Regions from separate parts of the Homo sapiens genome. Here region 2 is linked to region 1. The links are contacts of gene promoters, found by promoter capture Hi-C in blood cells and fetal thymus (Javierre and others, 2016). All regions are on one chromosome and are shown on one strand. The core of a region is centred on a gene start or on the middle of the fragment in contact, and the rest is flanking DNA. Distances in the headings are between cores, read along the strand shown. Region 1 holds the start of RBIS (ribosomal biogenesis factor). Region 2 holds the start of OTUD6B (OTU deubiquitinase 6B).

The links. The method cuts DNA at HindIII sites, captures the fragments that hold promoters and counts their contacts. A CHiCAGO score of 5 or more calls a contact.
Region 2: the fragment with the promoter of OTUD6B here is called in contact with the fragment with the promoter of RBIS in region 1 in 1 of 17 cell types (naive CD8 T cells); the score reaches 7.4 in naive CD8 T cells.

The regions. Positions count from the first base shown.
Region 1 is chr8:85,218,947-85,222,105 of GRCh38, forward strand. It overlaps RBIS (ribosomal biogenesis factor), which reads right to left and starts at 1,428. Exons shown (of 4, transcript NM_001099673.3): 1 at 1,360-1,428. LOC124901969 (a long non-coding RNA gene) reads left to right here and starts at 1,601. Exons shown (of 4, transcript XR_007060985.1): 1 at 1,601-2,179. RefSeq lists enhancers at 904-1,675, 1,285-1,414, 1,725-1,964, 2,448-3,159. The HindIII fragment of the contact is 10,198 bases long and covers 1-3,159 here.
Region 2 is chr8:91,068,722-91,071,880 of GRCh38, forward strand. OTUD6B (OTU deubiquitinase 6B) reads left to right here and starts at 1,623. Exons shown (of 7, transcript NM_016023.5): 1 at 1,623-1,745; 2 at 2,417-2,568. The coding sequence starts at 1,664. OTUD6B-AS1 (OTUD6B antisense RNA 1) reads right to left here and starts at 1,468. Exons shown (of 3, transcript NR_110438.1): 1 at 1,210-1,468; 2 at 858-1,101. RefSeq lists an enhancer at 1,671-1,850. The HindIII fragment of the contact is 11,349 bases long and covers 1-3,110 here.

The DNA.
Region 1 (3,159 bases), core at 178-2,677:
TTTAGTGTCCGACCTTTAACAGAAAGTCTGCCAACTCCTGGCTTAAGCCATCTGCACAGTGGCTATCTGGCACCAAGCTATGCGATCGACCTTCCCAATGTTAAAAACCTTCAACAGTTTTCCCAATGTATAAGGGGCAACGTGCCTTGGCTTGGCATATTACTGGCACTCTGAATCTACCCTAAATCTGCCACACATATCTCCTGTTACGTCCCTATAAACACTGCTCTAGCCAGCCTGGTCTAACTGTTCTCTTGCACAGACACCTTGAACATTCTTCCTTTTTTACCTTTGCTCAGTCGTAGTCTTGACTGAAATTTATATCTTCCTTCAATGTAGCCTTACTACATTGTAAGTAATTAAGGAACTACTTAACTGAAACAGCAATGCTTTTGAACGCCAACAGTATTCCTCCTACTTAAAAAAGAATGCAGTAGAAAATACATGGTTATTACAGAAGATGCAAAAAATAAAATACACATAATAAAACCCCTCAAATGAAGTACTCTAAAATCATTCCAAGCCGGGCGCGGTGGCTCATGCCTGTAATCCCAGCACTTTGGGAGGCCGAGGCGGACGGATCACTTGAGGCCAGGAGTTCGAGACCACCCTGGCCAACATGATGAAACCCCGTTTCCACTAAAAAAAATTAAAATTAGCCGGGCGTGGTGACGCGCGCCTCTAATCCCAGCTACTCGGGAGGCTGAGACACGAGGAGGCGGAGGTTGCAGTGAGCCGAGATCACGCCACTGCACACCAGCCTGGGCGACAGACTGAGACTCAGTCTCAAAAATAAATAAATAAAAATTAAAATAAAATAATTACAATAGTAACCAAAATCCAATCATTCATCTAGTATAAATCAATTGCTATATGCCACGTGTGGTAGAGAACCTATATTTTATACACAAAAAATATATATGGAACATAAATAATGACAGTATATATACGGAACATACACAGACATGATAGGTATATTGTACATGACACTACCTATAATATACACATGGACCATGAACAGACAGTCTACAAGTGGAGAGGTTTACTAGAGCTGTAGACCTGAGCAAGGTTCGTGGAGAAAGTAATACACTAGTGGGGGTGTGCGAGTGGAGGGAAATTCTCTGAAAACCACGTAGAAACTGATCATGAAAGACACAGCCCAAAACTGGGACCCCGTCAGGAGATGAAAGCCCAACAAGCACCGGGGTTTCGGGCCTGCTACCCAGTAGGGCTGCCTGAGGCAGAGCGCGACGGAACCGAGCCTACAGGCCACAGCGGTACGAGACCGGCCCAATCCAACCCCGACCCCTGCAAACTTCACGCCAGCCCTCCAGAAAACTTAATTTATTAAACTCTCACCAGAAGTTTAACACTTGCGTGCAGCTTTTTAAGCTCCAGGTAACACCATCTGGCACGTACGGCGTCTAGGAAGTTCCGGGGAGGATGAACCAGTCAGGATTCCGCTCACGAGCCGTAGCTCCGCCCACCGAACGGAGCCCCGTCCATAGGCGGAAGTCCCGCCCATAGAGTGAGTTCCCACCCACCTGGCGTAGTCCCGCCCATAGAGCCAAGTCTAAGGAGCAAGGTGCAGTGAAAAAGCGAAGCCCCACCCATAGAGCGAGGTTCGGAAGTCCAGTCTCATTAGCATCCCTTGTCTTCCGCGGTGTTGCAGACTTATCCTCAGCTCAAGCGAGTTTGGGGCGTTATGGAGCCAGCCAAGTCTCCCCTTGCTGGCGTGGGTACTTGTGCAGAAACTTCCCGAGGTGCTTCTGAGACTGCACAGTGAAGACCGCCGCACCGGAGGTCAGCGCTCCGCCGCGGACTCCCGGCTGACTCTGCCACTCTCCCAGGAGGAGGCGCTGTGCACCTCTGGGTGGTTTCCAGGGCTCGGCTGGCGGTAGAGGGAGCCTTGAGGTTGGAAAAGATCTAGAGCTATAATCTCCGAAAGGAAGATTTGTAATGCACTGCGAGTTAGAAATGTTTTTCTCACTGCAGCTTCCTTGTTTCAAAAAGAGAATTTTTGACAGCACTGCAAAGGCACAAGAAACCAGGCACAGTATAAAATATACAAATAAAACAGGTACCAAGGAACTTAAAACATTCAACCCATAACGTCGTCTAGGTTTTTCTGCTTTAAGAAAATTGACTCAATTCTTCCAAGAGAATAACCCTATTAAAGGTAAGTTTTCACATGTGCCTCTATTTATTTTGTTGAGGTCATAGGAAAAGCTGGATTTCAAACAAACGTAGATGTAAGAATTAAATAGAGGAGAGAAGCACGAAGGGTGGCTTTATAGTCAACAGGGACAGGTTTATTTTAAATAAACCTGAGACTGGCAGCTGGCCAAGTTAGGTCAGAGCCACACTCTCTTACAGACTAAGAGTTTTTAAGGATTCAGGGTGGGAGAGTTTAACAGAGGCTTGGACTGCTTCTGTGTCTCTTTGCTGTGCTTATCTGGGAGGGAGAGTTGTGTGTCTGTTCCCATACATCTTTCTGCAGCTGCAGGCATACCCGCAGCTAAAAGTCTGCTTTTAGCTTCCCTATCTTAGTACACCTGAAGGGAAAGGAATGTGCTTATTAAGGCCCACTGTTTCACTGGGGCTCATTGTATGAGGGTGAGGTTTGGTAGTTAGCCAAGAGATTTTCCCCCTACTTCACTCTGCCTGAGCTGTCTTATCTGTGTTTTACTGACTGCTCTTTCTATCTGCTTGTAATTAGAAGAGAAGTGATTTCCTTGAAATTCATGAGGCTAGAAAGGGAGCTGGAACTTAAAAATGGCGGTGTTTGTCCGAGATGACGGTGCTCCTGCTCTGTCAGTAAAACTGACATTTATATGCCATTTTGTAGCTTACAAAAGATTTCAGCCTACACTATGCTCAAAATAAGGTGATAAAACCACTCCTGTTTTGCAAGTGATGATACTACTAAGGTTCAGAGTTTAAGCCGTGTGCTGGCAGCCACACAACTAACTAGAAATTGACAAAGCCAGACGGTTTTGTAAAACTAAGCATTTTTTTAAAACAGTTTTTAAAAAGGTTTTGTAAACTTGATAATTCGCAAATCCACATTGGTTAGCACTTGGTCAAGTCCTCTTTCCAACAAACCAGGCACTTGCCTGCTTACAGAAAGATAAGCAATTTTTGCAATAAATCATTTAA
Region 2 (3,159 bases), core at 373-2,872, 5.8 Mb after region 1:
TTTAGCTTAAGAACATGCGTATTTGTATCTACAATACTACATGCTAAAAATAAAACAGTATTTGTCCAATATATTGAACATGTGGTATGCCCTTCCAGTTTAAACGTAAACTGAAATTTTACACCCAGCTTATGTTTCTATTTTTGTATTTAGTTTTAATGCCCTATACATAACAATTTAAACTTAATGCTCCTTAACTAGTTTTAATGCATACCATCAGTTCTTTCATACAATTGCCTCCCTATTCTTATTTTAATTCAGGTTCTCTGTTAGCTGCAGTAAATCCTTCAGCAAAATTTTCAGGGAAAGTTCTTGGTTGATATACTTTCCTAACCCCTGTATATCTAAGAATGTCTTCCAGTTTCCTTTGTAAAGAAATGATAACTTGGCAGAGTATATAATTCTTGGCTCAAAATTATTTTCCCTTAACACTCTAGATATTGTTCCACTGTCTTCTGGCATTTAGAATTGCAGGAGAAAAATCTGAGGTCAGCCTGACTTTTGCCCCTTTGTAAGTAACCTGCTTTCTCTGACTGGATGCTTGTAAAATGTTTCGTCTTTGAAATTCAAAAACGTCACCCGGATATGTCTAGATGCTGCTTTCTTTTCATTAAACTTTAAAGGTATCCTATGAGCCTTTTCCATTTGTAGATCTAGTTCGTTCTTCAATTCTGGAAAATTTTTTCAAGTAGATCCTTTATTGTTTCAGCTCCACTTGCTCTGTCCTCAGTTTCAGGTATTCCTATTATGCATAGATTGTATCTCCTGGACCGGCCCTCTAGATCTCTCTTTTTCTCCTCTTAATTTCTTTTCCCCTTTTCTCTGTATTCTGTGACAATTTGTCGTTTTGCACTTACTTCAGTAATTCGATTTTGTGGCCAATCCAGCGTGCGCCCTTCTGTTAACTCTCTCAACTTCCTGGTATTTTCCAAGCGCTCTAATAGTACCCTCTTTATCATCGCGCATAGGTGTTTAAGCTCCTGTATTATATGATTCTCAATCCTTCTTATATCTTGTTTCCATCTCTATATCCGTTTCAAGAGGAGGCATTTTCTCGATTATTTAGCGCTGCTCCTTTTTTCTCAGGGGCGGTATTACGACCTTGGAGACAATAAACATAATTTAATTCCACACAGCCCCAAACAGCCCAAAGATTCCCATTGATAATTATCGACGGCTTTATTAAAATGCGTTATTTTTCTTTCTTACCTTTTCAGTTGCTTTTCTTAGAAACAGGGACCAAAATCAAAGATTAAAGAGGTCCTCTGAAGCAGGGAATGAAATAGACGTTGAAAACTATTCCCGTTACGCCATCTCTGCGCGCCTCACGTCAGGGCCAAGAGCCTAGCGCGTAGCTTTATGGCTGACTCGGCTCTGGCGCTCTAGCCAATTCCGAGGCTGCAAACTCCGCTTCTCCGCTCGCAGTCTGGTTCCTCCCCTGCCGCCCCGCCCATCACGGCAGGGTCACGGTAGCGCGCACGCGCAGCACCCCATTTAAGTTTCTCGTCTTTGCAGTGGCTTTGCTTAGATCCGGTGCCGCCTTGAAGGCGGGGCTGGGTCCCAGCCGTAGCCAATGGAGCCCCGGGTGAGGGTTGAGGGGTGGAAGGTGCCTACTAGCCGGTGCAGGTTTCTTCTAGCGCGTGTGCTGGGGTACCTGGTCGTCATGGAGGCGGTATTGACCGAAGAGCTTGATGAGGAAGAGCAGCTGCTGAGAAGGCATCGCAAAGAGAAGAAGGAGTTGCAAGGTGAGGCGGAAGGAAGTGGGAATCTGGAAGCCGCCGCGACTGGGGGAAGGGCGCGTGGCGGGTCGATTCTGGGGAATCTCAAGGCGTGACTTATCTGGATCACCCTAGACTTCCCCTAGTAGCAAGTGGCCTCTTCTCTCTTCACCTACCCCGGCGGCCCTTTAATTCCCCAACCTTCAGAGGCTTCCCCTTCTGAGGCCTGCGGCGTGCCCCCTACCCCGCGCCGCCGCCGGGGTGCAGGTGTCTGAAAATACCTAGAAGCCGCCGTCTTGGTCCGCTCCCAAACCCACGATGCCTCCCTTTTCTATACCTGCCCCAGTTACCGATACTTGTCCCTAATGGGTGTATTTTGAATGGACCCGCCTCAGTTTAGGAGGTTCAGAAAGGATACCGGAAAGATTTAAAACTGGCTACAGTCAGGTTTTTTTCCTTCTCTTATCTCGCCAAACAACCGAAACATATTCAAGATTTTGTTAATGAAGTTTTTTTTTTTTTTGGTCTCAGCTTTATCTGGGATCTTCTCTCTCTGTAGCTGCCTGTTACGTGATGACTCTTTCTTCCATAATTACTTTTTCTGTACCCTTCGCCCGTTACCATCCCCTTATTGGTTCCTGTTTCTCATCTCCTTTTACTCCTGCGTGTCTGACTTAATGATTTTAATGGCTTTTCAGCCAAAATTCAGGGCATGAAGAATGCTGTTCCCAAGAATGACAAGAAGAGGAGGAAGCAACTCACCGAAGATGTGGCCAAGTTGGAAAAAGAAATGGAACAGAAACATAGAGAGGAACTGGAGCAATTGAAGCTGACTACTAAGGAGAATAAGGTATGTGAAATAAATGTTTGTCGTTGCCTACACCATTTGAAAACAGCTGTCCACTTCTGTTAAATGTTAAACTGCTTTTTTTTTTTTTTTTGAGACGGTGTCTCGCTTTGCAAAACACGCTCAATCTTGGCTCACTGCAAGCTCCGCCTCCCGGGTTCAGGCCATTCTCCTGCCTCAGCCTCCCGAGTAGCTGGTACTACGGGCGCCCGCCACTACGCCCGGCTAATTTTTTGTATTTTTAGTAGAGACAGGGTTTCACCATGTTAGCCAAGACGGTGTCGATCTCCTGACCTTGTGATCCACCCGCCTCGGCCTCCCAAAGTGCTGGGATTACAGGCGTGAGCCACCGTGCCCGGCCCTGTTAAACTGTTTATTATCTAAAATCATAAAATTGGTAGGGAAATGAAATCACTTAGTTATGCTCATGCATCACTTCTCATTAATGTTTTTGTGACCAAGTTTACAGGGCAGTGTGTTTCTATAAGGGAGATCGGCAAAGAAAGTGCTATACTTCTTTACCTATTTACTTGCCCAAAAGATGAAGCTTCACCAAATCAAAGTTGGAAGACCAGGCATCTGATCCCAGAATTG